6 separate regions of the Homo sapiens genome follow, and regions 2, 3, 4, 5 and 6 are each linked to region 1. The links are contacts of gene promoters, found by promoter capture Hi-C in blood cells and fetal thymus (Javierre and others, 2016). All regions are on one chromosome and are shown on one strand. The core of a region is centred on a gene start or on the middle of the fragment in contact, and the rest is flanking DNA. Distances in the headings are between cores, read along the strand shown.

Region 1 (3,457 bases), core at 417-2,916:
AATAAAATTGAATTTATATTGTGAAAGGGAATATAATTTACTAAGTATATTAACCCAGAATGACAAACACAAAGTCCAGTAAAACTGCTATATTATAAAGGAAGTGAAAAAAACTCTAATTAGGCAAAAAGATCAAGTGATTCTTAGGGAAAGAAAACCATGTTATAGCCAGCCCTTTGACATTTTATGCTAAGAAAAGAAAATGTAAATAAAGTATCTTAGACCCAGGAAAAATTTATTTTCAACTATAAAGACGACCATCAACCTGTTATTAACATTCAAGGACCCAGAAAATATTGCTTCCATGACTAATTCCTAAATAATCTTCTGGAAAACAGGCTTCAGACAACCTAAATGACAAGAGAGAAATTGACATTAAAAACTGGCAGTATTGGTAAATATATATTTACTAATAGAATAAGATTCAATCATGGATAAAAGAGAGTGTGTATAATGTCTACACAGTCCCTCGCAATATAGATAACAAAAAGAAAAAGAATAGAAAAGGCATAATAACCCCAAATTTTATTATTTTTGTTTTTATTATATTGGTATTTTATTCTAAGACTTTTGTGTGGATAATGTAAATGAGTAATTATGTCATATTCTAACATCCGTGTGTAATTGGGCACCAGAATTGTCAGTAAGGAAAAAAGAAAATACAAAAGTAACATACAAGATATCAAGTGAAAATCCTATGGAATTTGAAGTAACAGAATAAATAAAAAAAAATTTTATCTTTAGATAATATAAGCGTATGTCTGGATTTGTTGGGTTTTTTTTGTTTGTTTTTGAGGCGGAGTCTTGTTCTCTCACCTAGGCTGGAGTGCAGTGGCACGATTTCGTCTCACTGCACCCTCTGCCTCCTGGGTTCAAGTGATTCTTGTGCCTCAGCCTACTGAATAGCTGGAATTACAGGCGCTCTCGACCACACCTTATTAATTTTCATATTTTTAGTAGAGACAGGGTTTCACCATGTTGGCCATGCTGGTCTTGAACTTCTAGCCTCAAGCGATCCACCTGCCTTGGCCTCCCAAAGTGCTGGGATTACAGGTGTGAGCCACTGCACTTGGCCTGTTTTGTATATATGTCTGTACATGTATATGTATATGTGTATGTATATGCATATGTATGGGAGTGTGTGTGTGTGTGTGTGTGTGTGTGTGTGTATTTTCTAACCATGCTCATTGAAAAGGTCTAGAATAGAAGATCAACCTAGTAGCAATGTGTATTCTTTGTCTCCAAATTTTGGTTTTGAAATACGATTTTCCAATAAAAAGAACCAAAGCTTCTCAGAGAAAAGGTTAGTTCCAGGTCAGAGCAAGAAATATTCAAAATGAGCTTAAAACATCTTGTTATGCCCGATAACAAACATGACAGATTTCAAAAAGTGGCTGCAAAAATATTTCCTATTTCACATACTTTTTTCCAATGTGACCTTGCCATCAATAAGTGGACTTTTTCTCAGCCTTTTTTAATCTGGGAGAGTTCTATGACTGCTTTGATGAAAAGAGTATGGAGGAAAAGACCCTATCCCAGTTCCAGCAGTAGATCTTAACTGGTCTAGCAGCTTGCATTTTATACCTCTTAGAATGTTTGCTCTTGGAAAATTCTATCTTGGAACCCAGCTACCATTCTATGAAAAGCCAAGCCATCTTGAGAAGTCATGTGTAGGTGGTCGGTCCCATTGACAACCTCAAATGAGCTGCCAGCCAACAACCAGCATCAACTGCCAGTCAGGTAAGTGAGTCCTCTTGGTCATTCAGCCAAGTTGAGCTTTTGGATGACTACGTCCTCAACTAGCAATTGACTACAAATTTATAATATACCCCGTGGTAGGCAGAAAATGTCTCCCAAAGATGTCAATTTCCTAATCTCCATAATCTGTGAATGTTATGTTACATGGCAAAGGGTATTCTGATCGCTAATCACCTGACCTTAAAATAGGGAGATTATTCTGAATTATCAGAGTGGGCTTAATGTGATCACAAGAGTTCTGAGCAGTGGAAGAGGGAGGCAAAAGAGGAGTGTGGAGTGCTGGGATGTCAGAAGGATTAGGCCTGCCACTGCTAGCTTTGAAGATAAAAGAAAGACAGCATGAGCTAAGGACTATAGGCAGCTTCTAGAAGCTGGAGAAGGCAAAGAAACCGATTATCTCCTAGAGCCCTGAGAAAGGAATACAGCCCTGTCAACACTGTGATTTTAGCCCAATGAGATTAAATTCTGATTTTTGACCTTCCAAAACTATAAGATAGATTTACATTGTTTAAACCATTAAATTTGTGGTAATTTGTTACAGCAGTGATAGGAAATTAATATAGGCCCCAAGTGAGAACTACCCAGTAGAGCCCAGTCGACTCATAGAAACATGAGAAATAATTTTTAAAAATGAAGTTTGAACCACTAAGTTTTACTGCATAGCAATAGATAACTGGAATAGCAAGGAAGTTACCAAGTCTATTAGGCTATCTGAATAGAATTCATAAGCCAAACTGAAAAGGTTTCCATTAGGCAAAGGGGGAATAAATGGAGCATCAATAAGGATAACACTTTAATAGAGTAAATGATCAAATACATTTAAATTCATAACTTCATAAAGATACAACAAAATTGATCACCTTTGCAGGATGTCAAAGAATAAATTCATTATTTGTAAAACTGTTAGGTTAAAAAAAAAACTCAAACACTTAGCCTACTCCTCTTATACTATCAAATACCAGAAGAGGAAAATTTTTTTCTTTATGTAATTTTTCCAGTAACAAAGGAAAGAGTGATTGAATTTGAATATATCTCTACCATGCAATCTGTAAGTAATTAATGGACTTAGGCATTGAGAATTAGTGGCAGCAAAAATTGCAAAAAGAAGTTCCATCCGATAACATGCATATCCTGCTGGGGGAACACACCACCACAATAAAGTAGCCTTGGAAAAAAGAAAAGAAGAGAACGACCTGAGTCTTATGTCTGATAAAGCCTCTGGGTCAACTACCAATTTATGGCAAACACAAAGAACAAAGGAGAGAGGAATACATTAAACTATTAGTACACCAAAAAGATAAAGTCAACAAAATCCAGCATAGGGAATTCTGCATATAAATTTCTTTGTTTCTTCAATAAATAAAATGCAAACAGGGAAAATGGATGGAGGGGGAAGCCTGTAGATTAAAAAACACTTAAAAGACATAATTTAAAGCTAAAACTAAAGTACAGCATTGAAGGATGTCCCCTTGGATAATACAATTAAAAAGATAGAGTTAAAGGGTCTAATCCTGGAGCACTTCAACATCTGGAGATGGATAGAGATGGAGGAGTCAGAAAAGGAATTGAGGAATGACCAGAGAAGCAAGAGGTGAAGCAGGCTGGTATCATAGAGGCCAAGAGAAAAGCATGCTCTGGATGGGGTAGTTGTCAACTGAATCAAATGTTGTCATGAAGTCAATAAGATGAAAATTGAGAA
Region 2 (3,457 bases), core at 457-2,956, 640 kb after region 1:
AAACATTATCAATAAAGTCAAAAAGCAGTAACTGGTACAATATAATATTTTATATTTGCAATGTATCTCATGGAAAAATAGCTCCTATAAATCGGTAAGAAAAAGATAGGAAAAAGACTAGCAATCCAATTGAAAAGGACAAAAGATTTGAACAGCTTACAGAAAAGGAAATGCAAATGGCTTCTAAAACACAGAACCAAGCTCAACCTTTAATAAAACATGAGAAATGAGAATTAAAACAGTGATATACCTTTATCTATTTTGTAACTTACTGGCTGACAAAACCAAACACTTTGTAGCTCGCGTTGTTAACAGGGGTATGGAGGAACAACAACTGTCATCATGGCTGGTGAGATTCTAAACTGGTGCAACCTCTGCTAAGGGCAATTTGGCAAGATTTAACAAAATTCCAAACACGCATACTCTTAAGAACTAACAAGATCACTTTTAGGAATTTCCCCAACAGGTATGCTTGTATTTGTGCAAAATTATGTATCTAAAACTGTTAGGAGAGCAAGAACCTAAAAGAGCCAGAGTGACATCATTTGAAAATCACCTCCATCTTAGAATGAGCGAGGCACATTCCTTGCTAGTCACAACCCCATGATGCTAAGATGTTTACAGCTGAGGAAGCAGCTTGGTAATGCCTGCAAGAACAAACTCTTAGAACCACAGAAAGTCCAGATGGGCCAATACCCATAATGATAATGCTTTCAAGATAGTAACAGTTATGCTTTGATGTACTCACACACCAAATCGTCAAGGATGGTTTTCTTTACATCAGTAGAATAATAAATCTTGTCATGTTGTCTGCTCACCTGCATGTAGTCACAGTTTAGTCTTTACATAGACAAGACCCCTATATAAGAAAAACTGAAAAACAGTGTGTTTGTGCACTCACTTTCTGAGGACACCCTACTCTGTAATGGAATTGTTTCTAATAAACTTGCTTATTTCACTGAGCTCTGTGCCTCGCCTTGAATTTCTTCCTGTGCAAGATCCAAGAACCTTTTTTTGGATTCTGGATCAAGACACCTCTTTCTGGTAGCAAAAGGATATTCATTGCAGCATTGTTTGTGATAGCAGTAGATTAGAAACACATGAAATGTCCAACATTAGGGAACTGGTTAAGTAAACACAGGATGTTCATACAATAAAATGTTAAAGCAGATGTTAAAAAGAAAAACACACAGATGATATATAGAGATATAGATGTAGATGTAAATATAGATTTGGAACTTTCTCTAAAATATGTGATTAAGTGAAGAAAATAAACAAGATGTAGAGCAATGTGTACCTTAGGCTACCATTTTATAAAAAATAAAACCTGAGTGTATGTGTAGAATAACTGTGGATGAAGACACAGGAAGCTTATAACATTAGCAGTATCTTGGGAGATAATCTAGGAAGTTGGAAAATAATTGTAGGAGGGAGACTGCAGACCTTTTTATGGCTTTTGAATTTTGGGCCTTATGCAGATAAGATAACCAAGACAATAAATTAAGTAATAATTGTAAAGAACAATGATGAAGTCAGTTGACAAGGGCACAGAAAAATAGAATACATTTTCTTTATTTTTCACTTTATTGGACCACAGTTTTAGAAAATCGCCAATCTGGCATTTTCATAAAAAGAATTAACAGGCTCAAACAAATCAATGTCCATTTAGCTTTTTCTCATTTGAGCTTGTCAGATTTTAGATGTGCAAATTTCCTGGGAACAGAAAAAAAGCATTTGCTTTGACTTGCTATCTTGAAATGGGTTGTTCCTTTTCAAAAGTTGATTTCATCTGACATTGTTAAACACTTGAATTGCTGTTAGGTCATCTGTAGCCTAATTAACACTAATTGATCACTTGAATGGCAGGATTATTAATGCAGTTTAATTACTCATTAGAACATCTGAGCTTGGCCAACACCGGAGTTTTGGGGTCTGGATGGAAGGTGGGTATCTGGTAGAATCAGAACCATCTCTGTTGAATTAAATGCCTTTTATCACTGTGTGCCCTGACTTTTGGCTCATCTCTCAGAATCTGGCTTTTGAAAGCTTTGGTTGGAAAAAAAAATGCAAGCCACGCACAACTTTAATCTGGTGGGAAAACAGAGGGTCACGTTGTAATTGTCGGTTGCTATTGTGGGGAATGTAATTGGTTTGATAATAAGAAAAAATGTTTTTCAGTGAAATGCCTAAGGGAGTATGTTGTTATTCTCCTCCCCAAATCTAAGGTGTAACCTCTGCTTTTTCAGTCTTGGTTCCACTTCTCTGAGCATAAACAAGTAGCTCTCAGCCCTTCCTCCACCCACACCTGGTTTGCCAATAAAATATATATATTTTTTATTGTGTTGTTTTATACAAACGTTTAGATCTTTAAAAAATAAGTTCAAAAATTATTTTCAAATCTAAAGTCATACCTTTAATAACAAAGCAAGCCTTCTCTCACTGTTCTAACTTCCATGCTGATTTTTATCTGTTTGTAGTAAAAGCTGGAGGAATGAGAATTTCCAAAAAACAAGAAATTGGCACCTTGGAAAGACATACCAAAAAAACAGGATTCGAGAAAACAAGGTAGGGACTCTTAATTTTTCTCCATCACCTTGAGGAGTTTTGAGTGACTCTGCCTCCAGGAGTTATTTTAGGACAAACCAAGGCTCCCTATGCCTTTGGAGGCAGCCAGAGAAGGGGGCAGGAGGGGGAGGGCGTGATCCGTGGTGACTTAGGGTGAGGGGTGGGGAAAGGTAGGTGGCTACCCTCTGGAGGGATCCCTCTGAGAGGGCTCCCATCACGACCCCCACCCATTCTCCTCCTGTCTGCATCCAGCCCAGCGGCCTTGCACTTAATAGGCACAGGCCTAAATGCATCCAAACCTGACACACATCCTTTTATCCTATTTTCAGATCAGCCTTTAAAATATTGTTCCTAGGCTGGCCCTGTTTTCATAATATGCTTTCTGCTGAAGTAAATGTCCTGAATTAAAAATAAATGTCTTTTTTGTTTTAAACCCATCACTGAATTATTTAGAAAGTAATGGCCACTATATTTGGCATAGCCAGAAACACATAGGTACCGAGCAGCCTCCCCGCTGCTCCTTCCACCATAACATTGACGCCTGCCCTATTCTCAGAACTCAGCAGAGAGCTGTGGGCTGGATCAGGTAAGCAAATGGCCCAACCAGTCTAGGCCTTGGGTAAGGAAAACCAGAGCATTCCAAAAAACAAGAAACACGCAGAACTGTTTCTTTCTGAGGAGTGCTTCAGAGACTATTAATTTTGAAATGGTTTCCACAGATCAGTTGATGAGTAATTCAAAAGGATCTGAGTAGAGGATGCTCCAGGCACCTCCATAAGAGTTAAACCATATCAGAAAGAGAATGGAAATAGACTGTGGCACTTCTTTGACTCTTTTCTATAAAATTATTTTTAAATCACTTTTAAAGATTGCTTCCTAATTTCTGGGAAGA
Region 3 (3,457 bases), core at 503-3,002, 610 kb after region 1:
GTTTAAATATGCTTTTTTTGTAACCATGAAAGGAATGTTATGTTCCTTTGTCACACAAAATATGAGCATTATCCACGTCTCCAAATGAGCAAAAGACTGCCCAGATGTTTGTTATTCTGAATCCCTCCAAATCAAGAAAAACTGGGATTCTTTTTCTTCTGAAGAAAATTGTCGGCTGGGTGTAGTAGCTCAAGCCTATAATCCCAGCACTTTGGGAAGCTGAGGTGGGAGGATCACTTGAGGCCAGGAGTTGGAAGCCAGCCTGGGCAAAATATTGAGACCCCATCTCCATAAGAAAAACAAGAATAAGCCAGCCATGGTAACACGCACCTGCAGTCCCAGCTACTCAGGAGGCTGAGGTGGGAGGATCTCTTGAGCCCAGGAGTTCCAGGTTACAGTGAGTCATGATCGTGCCACTACACTGTAGCCTAGGCAACAGAGAAAGATTCTATATGTAAAAAGAAAAAAGAAAATTGTCTCTGACTCTTAGAAAAAAGAGCCATAAATATATCACATATCAACAACAACAAAAATACATAAAATCTTTGGAAATACAAAAAAAAAATGGGAATGCTGTTTTCCAACTTTGTTTGCCATGGCAGCTGAGATGAATGAGTATGTATATGACATTTATTTTATACGATCAAAGTGAAATGCTGCCATATTACTCCATGCAGATAATCTCTCAAGAGTGTTACCTGGAACTTGATTTCCTGGAAAGCTTTAAGGAAGGTCAAAGGTCATTCATTAAACACCATTAGACATTGTTTTTACCAGATTACAAAGAGCTTTGCAATAAGTGCAACAACTATAAGGTTACTGAATTATCCAGTTGAAGGACATTTTAATCAGTAACTAGACTCAACCATGAATCAATCTGATCTTGGTAATAAAAATGATTAAAAATACTTAATTGGGCATTTAAAATCTGACACATTCCATTGTGTAAAGACACAGAGAAGAAGATACCAATATACAAACCACACCAACCCAACCAGTTAGATGATTGAATTAGAGCAATTATATCTAATAAGAATTATAGTTACAAACTGTCAACATCTGTTGAAGACTTATGTCCTGGGCAGAGTGGTCAGGCTGAGGACTCTGAAAAACTGGTACATTTCTTACTCACAACTCTCTGAGGCAGATGTTGACATCTGCATTTAACAGTAAAGAAAATGGAGGCTTAGAGAAGGACTTGCCAAACATCTCACTATCAAAAACTGTGAGGTGTCTGAGACTTTACCCTACTTGCAAGCTAATGAGTTAGGCTGCCAGTTTCATGTGTGCTTACAAAAGACATATGATTCCTGGGTCAGAGACAAAGGACTTAATTTTCATGACATAGCAGACAGCTGTGTAAGCATCAGATACTCATCAGTTTCCCAGCTAAAGTGATCATTTTGCCCAGGACTGTTTCAACTTAACATTGAGAGTCCTGTGCAAACTGGGATGGTTGGTCACTCAAGTTCCCCTTACCTTCCAAGTCCCACGAAGTCAATGGGGATCAGTCCAGGTGGATGACACACACGCAATGGGCCTGAGAGCTAAGGAACCCCAAGCTTAGGAAACTTCCAGTCTTGTAAAAGGGCTGCTAGTAAACTCACCCAAATTTTTTCCCCAAAAATGCCATTAATTTTATGATCTAGCAAACACATCTGCTCCCTGACCTGGAAGGAGACATTGTATCTTTGAAGACTATTCACTATACAAACATCCTTGAATAGATTCTCTGATACAAAAGCTGACACAAGAAGAGCAGAAATGTGAGAAACCCATGGAGAATCATCCCCCAACACTTACCGCTAGCTAAGAAGAGGTGAGGACAGTATTCAAATCCAGCTCCCTCAGACATGAAAACCTATGTGCAATCCTGTCTCTTAAATTACTATGCTCAGATTTACAGAGTTAAGCCCCAACGAGAGTGGCTTTTCTTTTAATTGAAGCTTTGAGCTTTTGGTTATATTTTTAGAACAGATGGTACAGAAGTCCCCTCCTTATCCATGGTTTCACTTTTCATGGTTTCAGTTACTCTCAGTCAACTGCAGTCTGAAAATATTAAATGGAAAATTCCAGAAATAAATTCATAAATTTTAAGTTGTGCCCCATTCTGAGTAACGTGATGAAATCTCTGGCCGTCCCACTTCATCCCACTTGGGACATGCAACCTCCCTTTGTCCAGCATCTCCATGCTGTATTCAAGTGGCCAGTTGTCTATTAGTCACTTAGTAGCCCTCGTGGTTTTCATGTTATCACAGTGCTTGTGTTCAAGGAACCCTTATTTTACTTAGTAATGGCCCAAAACACAAAAGTGGGGATGCTGGTACAATATTATAATTGTTCTATTTTATTATTGGTTATTGTTGTTCATCTCTTACTGTACCTAATTTATTAATTAAACTTTATCATAGGTATGTATGTATTTTTTTTAAACATAGTATATATAGGATTCAGTACTATCCAAGGTTTCAGGCAACTACTCGGGATCTTGGAGCATATTCCCCTAGGATAAGGGGGACTATTGAATTGTGTCCATCTTGTATGCGCTTATGGAAAAGAAATGTGGAGGTACTGTATTGCAGAATAATACTGTCATCCAAAATACAGTTAAACGAGTCAGATGGGCTAATTGACCTCTACTTGGCTCTTCTTGCCCTGGGGGTCCGTCACTCTGCTTCCATATTGTTACTATTATTACTACTCGCTGTTTTCCATCCTCTTGCTGTGATCAATGCCTGACCCAAAATGCTATTCTTCTGCCTCATTTTTTAATTCTGGCAGGATTTCAGCAATGAGCAGTGTACTTTCAAAGCACTGCACCTTTCAACAAAGGTGCAGTGTATATTTAATACTAGAGTAATTTTAAAAACATGTTTCACTATAAAAAGAAAAGCAACTAAGATTATTGCATAGGGACTCACTTTTTATAAATTTTCATTCTTTTGCACAATGTTGACCACATCATCAAATTGTTGTGACATTTTTTAGGCAGAGTTTAAAGTCTATTTTTTCCTGGAATATTCAGATCAAATTTCCTTTTCCTTTTTTGCTTAACCCAAGGTGAGAACAGGAGCAGATATTACCGTATGTTTTTAAAAGATTATTTTGATTTCCTTTCTGGGTAGAGCTGGTTATTATCTCTATTGCTCTCTAAAGATCAGAAGATGAAAAGAACAAGCAAATAGAGAAAACAAAAGGCATGTGATAAGAGAGTTTCTATATTGCCTAAGTGATAGTTTGCCATAGTACATTGTAGCGAAAAGGTTGCACAAAAGTTATAAGCAAAGTATGAAAAAGTTAATAGAAACAGCCTATCCTTTGTAGAGATAGTTGGTGATTAAGATGCCCTGGGGTGGAAAACAGTTTGTCAGTTTCTTTAAAAAGTAAACATGTAACTACCATACAGCCTAGCAATCACATTCCTGGGTACTTATCCCAGGGAAATGAAGACTTACGT
Region 4 (3,457 bases), core at 620-3,119, 590 kb after region 1:
ATGGTTAAATGTGTCCCCCAAATTTCATGTGTTAGAAACTTTATTATTCTTTATTTATTTATTTTGAAACTTTATTATTTTATTTATTTCACTCTTTCACTCAGGCTGGAGTGCAGTGGTGCAACCACGGCTCAATGCAACTTTGACCTCTTGCGCTCAGGTGATCCTGATCCTCCCACTTCAGCCTTCCAAGTAGTAGGGTCTATAGGTGTATGTCACCATGCCCGACTAATTTTTTGTATTTTGGATAGAGATGGGGTTTCAACATGTTTCCAGGCTGGTCTCAAAGTGCTGGGCTCAAGTGATCCAACCACCCTGGCCTCCCAAATGCTGGCATTGCAGGCCTAAGCCACCTCACCCAGCCTGTGTTGGAAGCATAAATCCCAAATTCATATGTTGATTGGAGTTGGAGCCTTTGGAAGGTGATGAAAATTAGATAAGGTCATCAGGGTGGGGCCCCCATGATGGACCTGGTGGCTTTAAAAGAAGAGAGATTGGCCTGAGTGAGCACACTTGCTCTGTCTCACAATCTGATGCCCTCTGCCTTGTTAGGATGCAGCAAGAAGGTCCTCACCGGATGCCAGCACCATGATCTTAGACTTCCCAGCCTCTAGAACCATGAGCTAAATAAATCACCCAGTCTGTGGTATTCAGTTATAGCTACAGAAAGTGAACTAAGACAAATACCTACTGTCTTTAACCTCTATTCTGCTTTCAATATGATAAAATGGGCCACTCATGAACCTCAGCTACACAATCATAAAAGCTAACAGACAAATTGAATGATTATTTTTTTAATGACAAGTAAAAGGAACTACTATCCTAACACAAACATGCAACTAAAGTGGACATCTGATGCTTTGTCTGCCCAGCACTCCTCTTCCTGCGAAGAACTGCACCCATCCTATGTCATTCCCACAGGGATAGTCATTCACAATGCTGCATCAGTGTTGCACACCTACCTATCCACGGGGGTGGATGTGTGACCCAGAAGTTGACCGGTCTGGTACCCACCTATTTTAGCTTTATGTGCCAGGCATCAAGCTGAACGTGAGGGATACCGACATGAAGAAGATGCAGTCCCTTCCTTCCGGTTACCAGCAGTCTGGAAACTGGGACTACTGCAGAGTCCAAGGTATTAGCAAACCATGCAATACAGGGTGATAAGTACATGCTGAAGCACTGAGCAAAGTGTTGTGAAAATACAGAGAGCAGGTAAAGACTGAAGAAAGGAGTTCGTATTTCAGCAGAATCTTAAAAAGAAGTTCCATATGAGCAATCAGCATGTGCAAAAACAAGGATTTTTGAAACAGGGCTTGTGGCCTGGTGGGTACACTGGAACCCCACTAGAGGGTGAGATTAAGGGGAATGGTGGGGAGCAAGATTGCAGGACGGAGTGAATGACATGAAAAGATCGAGTCCAGCCAAGGAGTTGCATTGAATCCTAGGCAACAAGGAGCTAATGTAGGTTTCTGAGCAGAGAAGAGTTAAAAGCAGATTTGTAATTTAATACAATCCCTCTGGAGGTTAAATGGGATCATTAAATGATGAACCCTTGGATGGTAGGAGTGTCTTTGGTATGCAGTAGTGTTGATAAACATTTATTGGGAAATGATGACAGTCTCAACAGAGGCAGTAGCAGAGGGGATAGAAAAAACGGAGCAATTTTGAAAGACATTTTTGAGCTAGAACCAACAGAACTTATCCAACAATTAGGAAGGAAAGGCAAGAATTAAGAATGTTTTAGCAGTTTCTCTCTTAAGTGATAAAATGGATGGAAATAAGAACTAGGTGAAGATAATAGTCGTGCTTTTGAACATATTAGATTTGAGAGGCCTGGGAATCCAGGGAACGAAGTAGGTCTGACAGGTAAGGAATTTAAGAACGTCTGGGGCAAAAGATAGGAAGGTCTAGAAGTCACCATCACAGAGATGCAGTTTACAAGAGAGGGTGTTAGTCAAGAGAATTAACCTCCGAAATGCTAGAAATTGTTCAAATTATGACTTTCCGAAGGAATATGTCAGGCTCAAGTTCCTTTATAATTGTTACATACAAGATCAAAGCTCCCCCACCTACACCCACATTCCCTACACCCCTAAAATAGAATTGGCAAAATGCCTCCACACCACAGGTAGGGATTAAAAAAAAAAAAAAACAAGACTCCAGCTATTTGACTCCCTTAGCATGTCTGGGCCACCAACAAATCATAAGCTGTTGGAGACTCTGCCTGGCAACCAATGCTGGACCATTCATAAGGAGAAATGGCATCAGCATCCACTAAACCAGACAGTCTTTGAAGTACTTCTGCCAAACCCAGGGTAACTACTGAGCCAGGAGGCCTTCTGGTCTTTTCATTTCCCTGCCAAACTGGCCACGTGCTGACTCTCCCTTGCCAGGAGTTCATGCCTGCACCTCCATGGGTACCTGATAAGATGCCACAGTCCTTGTCATGGGCATATGCATGGGGGCTGGGGGGTCAGGTGAGAGGAGGCAGCAGTGGCCAGGGAGCTGGCAGCCTGGGGTCAGTTGTACCAGTGATTCTCAGCTAAACTTGGCTTAGTGGAGCCACAGAACTTTGTCTGAATATGTACCTATCAGAAAGCCGATGACTTTTCTTGTTATACTTTTTCTTTAAAAATGAAACAAAACTGAATTAACATAGAAAGATCTAACTGATATGATAATTGATAAAGGCACATGGTATAGCTGTATGCACAATATGATCTATTTGGGTTTTTTTCCTAAGTGTATGTGAAGGTGTGTGTGTGTGCGCCTGTGCGTACGTAGAACTTATCTGAAAGGATACATACCCAGCACTGGGGAGCTGGGATGGGGAGGGGGAATGGGGAGCTTCTACATTTCACCTTTCTCTATCGTTTGCGTTTGCTTTTTTTTCTTTTTTTTACAAGAAACTTGTTAATTTTCATGTAAAATTTTTTCAAAAGGCACCAGACATTTTAATCAATCATAGAAGGGCAGCTCAATACTTAATAGATTTCTAAGGTCTGTGTGTGAACATGCATTGCTTAACAGCGTGGTTTTCAAGTAGATGCCTCCTAACCAAGTCAGCACAAGTTCCTAATGACTGACTGAGCAAGAGCGTGGCTTCCTGAAGGCAGAGTCCCTCCCTCCCCCTTCCCTCACTTCCAGCCATCCCAGGTCAGGTAAGAACCTGTCTGGAGAATGTGTGTAGGAGAAAGGAGGCTCCACAATGGTGAATAGGAGAGTCACTGGCTGCAAAGACGCTTGTGAAACAAGGCCAGGCCTTGGATTACTACCTTCATGTTCATGGGGATGCGACAGTCTTTGCCCAGACTAACCCAGGTTTGTCACACCCACACTAAGCTAGCGTGGAATCAGTAACTAGGTCAATAATCAGCTCTAAAGCTGGCTTATCCCAGGGTTGAAGGCAGGTGGATCCCTGTGTTGAGCTGGCTTCTTTCCTTGGGTGAGAGGT
Region 5 (3,457 bases), core at 295-2,794, 550 kb after region 1:
TCCATGCGGAAATTCCCAATCAGGCATTGTCTGGTGTTGAATACTCTGCAGTAGAGAAATGCTGCTTGTCATGGGGAACACAAAATTCCTCCTGTCCTTATGCACCCTAGTTCCTGAGGATTATGTCCTGTCTTTTTCAGCCTGCACCCTAAAAATAGCTGGTGCTATTTCCAGGTTCCCCAGCAGAGTCTCCATCCAAATGTATCCTATCAGCTTCTCCAGCTCAAGATCACAACAGCTCACCCCTGGATTGATTTGGGAGCCCATGACCTCAGGCTTCCAGTCTCCCCCACTGGCCAGGTCCCAGTGAAGCTTTTGCCCCTACCCCCTGAGTGCCAGCTTCCCCTTCCTCTGACTCCTTAATGCTTTATGCCTGTTACAGAGGGGCATCAGGGGCTGGCAGAAACCAGGGGCTGATTGGAATCAGGTCCTGCCCTAACCTCCATGGTTCTCAGTATTCTTGCCTATAAAATGTGCCAATAATAGCGTCTGCTTCATAGCCTTACAGCAAAGACTAAGTGGGATGATAATGTAGATAAAATGCCTGTCATCATGTCCAGCACATAGATAATGTTCAAGAAAAATTGTCCCCATTGTCACTTCCCATTAGAATGGCATGTTTGTTGGGGCTGTCTGCCTCCACAGACTGTGAGCTCCTCAAGGGCCAGAACTATGCATTATCCACCTCTGTATCTCTGATTCTCTGTGGCTCCAAACTCTAGAACAGCAGTAGTATACAGTAGGTACCCAGGGGATCAGTTATTTATTGCCACAATAATGCTGCACAGCAAACCAAACTTAAAACCACAATTCATTTAGCCCATGATTCAGCAATCAGGCTGTTTAAGCCAAGCTCTGCCTGGGGGGTTCTTCTGGTCTCCACTGGGCCCAGCCACAGGCCATGTAGGCACTGCTTCTACTTATGGAGGTGGTGGGGAGAGATGGACCACGTGTCCGTCATCAACCAGCAGCAAGGCCTGGCAGAGTTCTTACAGGGAGAAGAGCAAAAGGCCGCGGGGCTTTTTGAAACTGGCACATTGTTACTTTCACTACATTCTATTGGCCAAAGCAAGTCACAAGGCCCGCTCAGATTTAAGGGATGGAAAAATAGACTCTGTCTCTTGATGGGAAGAGTGGTGAAGCCACGTTTAAAGGGCATGGATTCAGAGAGGGGTGGGAATTGTCACCCCTTTCTGAATTTTTGTGATCTACCACACCCAGTTTTTCATATGAAAGAGGTAAGTTAGAGAAAAATGAACGAAAAGAGCAATGAGAAGAAAAACCCAATTTATGTCCTCACAATCATGGGCAAGGACACTTAAATTCTAGGTTGCTCAATACAAGCAAGATGAAAATTGACCTCTCAAACCATTATGTAGTTGAGAGTTCTCTAAGGTACAGTAAAGAGAATATGTGCCAATCAGGGCATAAATCAAGACACTCCTTTCCTGGTGTCTTGGGAAGGCAGATGGGCCTGGATTTATCGAGGACACTCAGCCTCCTGACAGCAGTATAATTACAGACACCAGCGTCATTAATCAGCAATCCGCCAGTGACCGAGGAGTCTATAAACCTCCAACTCTCTCGGTTCCAAAATTGATTTGACTTAAAAACAATTATTTAAATTCCACATGCTTGAGCATTTGGCTTAGGAGAATGTAGGAAAAATATCAAAAAGAAAAGTTTGTGTTTTTTATTCATCTCCACCTTCAGAACATTGAAAGTTTTTATTAGCCCATCAGTAATTGGATGAACCTTCTGTTTCACACACACACCACCCACCTTCTATCAGAGAGACTCTCACCAAAGATCCTCCAGCTGTGATGTCTGAAAACTCAATTCAGTGATGAGCTAAGGGACCCACTCACCTAAAAAGGTGCTGAAAGGCACAGGCATGGAGTTAGGTGACTTCCATGGAGCCAGCTCCCTAGAGAGACTAGTCAGTTTCTGCCTATGTGTAACCATCCTTTCCAAAGGTTCTCCATCCTTCTGGACCCCCCTTTTCTTCAATACCAAATAAAATGGTATTGGTATTGAGAAAAGTCCCCATTCCTGGTGCAGGAGGTCTAGCATCCCTGAATGTATCCATGCATTTGTAGCAGTAAGAGCTCACATTCTTCTGGTCGGTCCTTGCCTAGAGTCTGCTTCCTCGCTGGACCACAATTCCTGCAATGCCCCCGTCTCCCCTTTCTTGGGATGTTCTGCTATGGCACAAAATCTCTTTTCTGCAAGGGTCTTTGTACACAAGCTACACATAACAGATTTTACTGAAGGTTTGGTGGCCAAAAGAGGGTCATTACAGCATAGACTACAAGGTAAATTCATGATCAGGCAGACATCACTTCTAGTTTTAGGCTGCCTCTGCTTCCCAGGGAGGCTTCCTCTCTGGTCCCGTCTTCCATATGTTCCAGCCTTAGGCCATGCCACTGGGCCCCATGACCCCCTCAGAGCTGCCTCTAGACGACTCTGTCATCTCCTGCTGGTCTGATCTTCTAGCTTCTCAACTCATCTACATCCTGGACACCAAAAACCTTCAACATTTCTTCATTTCCAAGAGCAATTTAGCCTTCCTTTGTTTCATCTTTACTCATCCAGCTCAGGCCCAGAACCTGATCTCTCAGCAGTAGCAGGGCTCCTGTCATTTTTCCCAAACAATAGGGCCACTCAACCTCTGGGAACAATTATCTTCCTCCCAGACCAATGAAAAAAATCGCACTCGACTTTTAAAGTAACAGATGTTTTCTCTCATCTTTCCACACTGTCTACCACGTGATTTGAAAGCTTAGAGAGACCTGCCTCACCCCCCATGCCTGACACCCCTGCCAAGAAGGTCATCTCTTCAGGTTAAGGGATTATATCCAGAAGATGCACATAACCACACATTTCATTTGGGAAGAGTAACCCACCAGGTCTCAAACTACAAGTTCTCAAACTTTAGCGCATATACCAATCTTCTGGTGCACATGTTAAAAATACAGCTTCCCTGGCCCTAACCTGACACAGCAGACAGTAGAACCTAGGAATCTGCATTTTTAAAAGTCTTTCATCTCCACCCTCCCCCAAGTGCTTCTGATGCAGGGGATCAGCTGCTCACACCTGGAGCAATTCTGTGCTTCTGCTTGATTTATAGCATGGAATGCAGGAAGGCCGAGGGTCCAATCAACATCTCAAGGTTTCCTAGGGCTGCTGTAACAAATTGCCACAAACTTAGTGGCTTACAGCAACAGAAATGTGCAGCATTGTTCATAATGACCAAAAAGTGGAAGCAACCCGAATGTCCATCCACAAATAAGTGTATAAACAAAATGGATGTTACACACAGTGAAATATTATTCAGCCTGAAAAAGGAAGAAAACTCTGACACATGCTGTGACATGGATGACCCTTGAAGACATGATGCTACATGAAATAAGCCAGACACGGAAGAACAAATACTATACGGTTCCATGTATATGAG
Region 6 (3,457 bases), core at 567-3,066, 520 kb after region 1:
ATGGTGAGGTTCTCATTTTTCATTTTCCTCTCATCTCTGCGTAACCTTTTAATCACTTCTTTGAAAATTAACACTGCTTTGGAAAAGGCTATCAGAGGAGAGGTGGAGTGGTATTGAAATCAGGTCTGTCGATATATAACATCTTAATTGGAGAAAAGCTGATGCTAAACCACCTGAAGCTACAAATATTGTCCTCTGAGGCCACATCAGTGAGTGTGGTGATGATATATCATCACTGAGAAACTGCATTTGGCTGGCAGTAAAAAAAAAAAAAAAAATTCCAAAATTGAGGCTTCAACAAGACAAGTTGTAAGAGGTTTTATTTGTAGTTTTTTCCTCTACCACATAAAGAGATGACCACAGAAAGTCTAATGTCTGTCTTCCTAGTATGGGGTTCCACAAATGCCCTCATGGCATAAAGTAAGCTTTATCCTACTCTTTGGGTAGGACCCTCATCCTCATGGCTTCCTGGCTAGCTGCTGGAGCTCCAACCATCACATCCTCATTCCTCAACAAAGAGAAAGGAGTTGGGAAAGTGGAGCTTGGCAATTGAGTCAAAACCCCTAAAAAAGCTTTCCTTGAATCCCTGCCCATACATCTCATTGGCCATTCCTATCTATAAGAGACACTTGGAAAAGGAATCTTTACCAGGTCCTATTGCCACCTCTACTCATGTAGGTTGTGTTAGTAAGGAAAAGGAGGGGGTGGATAGGAGGAAGTCACTCTCAGTCTCTGCCCAAGATGATAGATGACCTCTGCACTTTTATTTCTTCGGTTCCTATGAATGTATGCTCCAAGCTGGAGACGTGTTGTATTATTCCCATGCTTGGGCAGAAGCCATAGTACCCAGGGCTCCTAGGCATGAAAGATAAGTAAGGTTGGATGAAACTTCTCAAGCTCAAGTTGTCCTAGAGGTAGGAGTCCTCAGCAGTCAGGCTCCATGTCATAGTGTAAAAGTTAACCACGGAAAGCCAGTAACCATCAGCAATCTATGGTCAGAAGCCCCACCCTCCTGGTAGCTTCCAATCTCCATGGGGTAGAGCCATGGGGAGTCCACAGAAGTGCGAAAGTCAAGGGGAGGGATGCCAGGTGCCTCTCCCCACTGCACCAAGAGCAGCCCACTGTGCGCTGCTTTCTATATTCCATGTCCACCTGAGATCATTTTAGCAAAGGTTATATAGCTAAAAACAAAAATAATGATAAACCATGTATGGCCAACACCTGACCTTAAAAAGTAGCTCCCTAGAGACAGCTCTGTGTGCTCCTGACTGGCAAGCCATGTAGGCTGAGGCAGCAGCTGCCTCCCTCAGCCACCCAGATGAGAGTCGCTGCGACTCACTGTATGTCTGTGGCAATCTTCCTTCAATGTTCTGGGCACTGTGGGGTAATCTGGGGCTGACACGTCTGCCATTGCCCCCAAGAATTTGTAACATTCCTGAGTCCATCGGAGCAGTTAGCAGCTACCAAGTCTGGGTTGAGCTGTCAAGGAAAGCCCAATAGAACAAGATGTACTCAAGCTAAACTTTGGGTTAACTTTAAACAAAGGAAATACATGAGAATGGTGGGATGCAGACTACAGAGAAAGCCAGGGAACGTGAGTACAGGAAGAAAGTCAAGAGGAAGAGACAAAAAAACAAAACCAAAACAAAACAAAACAAACAAACAAAAAAACAAGTTTCTCTCAGCGGTTTGGGGTGAAGATGAAAGAAATCTCAGCCTTTTGATCACTCCTAAAAATAATAATAATAATCTTTTGATGAGTATTTGCTAGGATGTAAGATATCAAGGACAGTACTGTATGCTTTAACCACATTATCCCATTTAATCTTCATAACAACCCTAAAACAATGTCCAAGAGAAAACTGTCCTCAGAACTATAAAGTGGCCCAAGGTCACCTCAATTGGGGATTGCCAGATGAATCTGTTGGATTCCAGAGACCCCATTAGCTGTTCCTGCCTCCCTAAGGAAGCAGAACAGCCGTCCCCTCCAGCCTTGATGTTTATGCTAAAGTCAACCCTTGTGACAAACCCTCTCCCAGCCAGGAATCCCCCTCCAGCTTCCTACCAGCTTCCCAGCCAAATTAGGCTCAAATAATACAAATCCATTTTAACGTTGCCTTAGCAAAGATTACTAGGAAAATAGCATGTTGGCGCAAATCAAAGTTGATGCCTTCGAAAAGAAAACTATCAAATGGCCTGTTCACAAAATATGCTCCGAGTCCAGACCTGTGACTAAACACTTCATGGAATCAAAAGAACCCAGAAGAGAGGCCCTCCCCTGTACGGGCCAATCCCACTGCACCTCCCCACCCCTCCAACCTCGCTTAGCCTCAAGGAGCAACTCTGCTGGGCAGGAGCAGGGGCAGGAGGCCAGGCAGTTCAGCTGGGAAAGGGCTGTTGCCTCAAAGGGAGGGAAGGGCCCTACCACCAAAGACCATCTCCAATAAGGACTCACTCATAGCCCTGCAAGTCTATAAAAAGGGAAGCACAGACATTCTGGAAGATGTGGAATGAAACCTTGTATCTTTGTCTTCACTGTTCACTCCTCACTCTTCTTCAGGGGCAAAGGAGGGATCATCTCATGAGACTAGGAGAAACAAAGTAAGCTCAAGGAGCCCAGCTGCCCAGCAAAGGGCCGGAGCATCTGGCCTCCCTCGCAGGGCAGACTATCCTGGCTGGTGCTGCACTGCACGGAGGCCTCAAGTTTTGGTTGGGTGAGTTCAGTTAACCCAGGTATCTATAGAAGACTGATTTTTGTTCTGGTTCAAGCTATAGTTCCCAAATCCACCTCAGGAGTGAGAAAGCTGATAGTGTTCTAATCCACGTGACCCCTGGGTGTATTCCTCTGCAGTTCTGGTCTCAGCCCTAAGGTATGTCTGGGCCTTCAGAAACCCCAGCACATCCAAACTTCTGGACCAAACTGAATCTCAATATGTGAAATAGGACTCTTTCACGGGAGTAGATAAGAAGGGGCTGTCACCAGTGCCTCAGGGCTAACACACACTGAGGGCAGAAGTCCCACCAGGTTAGCCTGGGCCAGCACCCATCACCCCAAGGGACAAAGCTTCAAGCAAGTTCTTTGGAGAACATGGCTGAACCTGAGGTTGAAGTTGGTTTTCCCACTTCTCTCCTCCCTTCCCCAGATGGAACTTCGGACAGCCAAATCCAGTGAGGTGTGAGCTAACCTCCCCACCCAGTCATGTGCTTACACATGGGAACAAAACCCAAGAGGGTGGCCAGCCTTCAGCCCAGTGCCCAGGGATGAAACATGGCCCAAGAAATAACACCACCACCATCAGCTGTCCATGCTTCCACCTCAAGCACTGAGCAAGATCCTCTGGCAAATGACCTCACTGGGAGGTAAAGAGGAAAGCGCTATTGTCAACTCCATTCTTCAGGTGAGGAAACCCAGTAAAGGGAGGTTAGAAAGCCCACCCCAAGTGACAGTGCAGTGTCA

What was found. Contacts are between HindIII fragments. The CHiCAGO score rates a contact against its expected background, and 5 or more counts as called.
Region 2: a fragment that was not itself captured here is called in contact with the fragment with the promoter of CCDC148-AS1 in region 1 in 2 of 17 cell types (endothelial precursors and erythroblasts); the score reaches 8.5 in endothelial precursors.
Region 3: a contact is called between a fragment that was not itself captured here and the fragment with the promoter of CCDC148-AS1 in region 1, in 5 of 17 cell types (endothelial precursors, megakaryocytes, naive CD4 T cells and 2 more). The highest score is 9.8, in endothelial precursors.
Region 4: a contact is called between a fragment that was not itself captured here and the fragment with the promoter of CCDC148-AS1 in region 1, in 14 of 17 cell types (endothelial precursors, naive B cells, total B cells and 11 more). The highest score is 15.0, in endothelial precursors.
Region 5: a fragment that was not itself captured here is called in contact with the fragment with the promoter of CCDC148-AS1 in region 1 in 9 of 17 cell types (endothelial precursors, naive CD8 T cells, M1 macrophages and 6 more); the score reaches 7.8 in endothelial precursors.
Region 6: a fragment that was not itself captured here is called in contact with the fragment with the promoter of CCDC148-AS1 in region 1 in 9 of 17 cell types (endothelial precursors, naive B cells, M0 macrophages and 6 more); the score reaches 9.9 in endothelial precursors.

Annotation. Positions count from the first base shown.
Region 1 is chr2:158,164,984-158,168,440 of GRCh38, forward strand. It overlaps CCDC148-AS1 (CCDC148 antisense RNA 1), which reads left to right and starts at 1,667. Exons shown (of 5, transcript NR_038850.1): 1 at 1,667-1,740. The HindIII fragment of the contact is 5,438 bases long and covers 1,287-3,457 here.
Region 2 is chr2:158,801,805-158,805,261 of GRCh38, forward strand. DAPL1 (death associated protein like 1) reads left to right here. Exons shown (of 4, transcript NM_001017920.3): 2 at 2,478-2,565. Among named protein-coding and RNA genes, the nearest start is that of DAPL1, 8.2 kb to the left of the region's middle. The HindIII fragment of the contact is 676 bases long and covers 1,369-2,044 here.
Region 3 is chr2:158,775,094-158,778,550 of GRCh38, forward strand. No RefSeq gene overlaps it. Among named protein-coding and RNA genes, the nearest start is that of DAPL1, 18 kb to the right of the region's middle. The HindIII fragment of the contact is 384 bases long and covers 1,561-1,944 here.
Region 4 is chr2:158,758,718-158,762,174 of GRCh38, forward strand. No RefSeq gene overlaps it. Among named protein-coding and RNA genes, the nearest start is that of PKP4-AS1, 25 kb to the left of the region's middle. The HindIII fragment of the contact is 3,967 bases long and covers 1-3,457 here.
Region 5 is chr2:158,718,116-158,721,572 of GRCh38, forward strand. The region is part of intron 1 of PKP4-AS1 (PKP4 antisense RNA 1); the gene reads right to left. Among named protein-coding and RNA genes, the nearest start is that of PKP4-AS1, 15 kb to the right of the region's middle. The HindIII fragment of the contact is 2,469 bases long and covers 311-2,779 here.
Region 6 is chr2:158,687,559-158,691,015 of GRCh38, forward strand. The region is part of intron 1 of PKP4-AS1 (PKP4 antisense RNA 1); the gene reads right to left. Among named protein-coding and RNA genes, the nearest start is that of PKP4-AS1, 46 kb to the right of the region's middle. The HindIII fragment of the contact is 2,492 bases long and covers 571-3,062 here.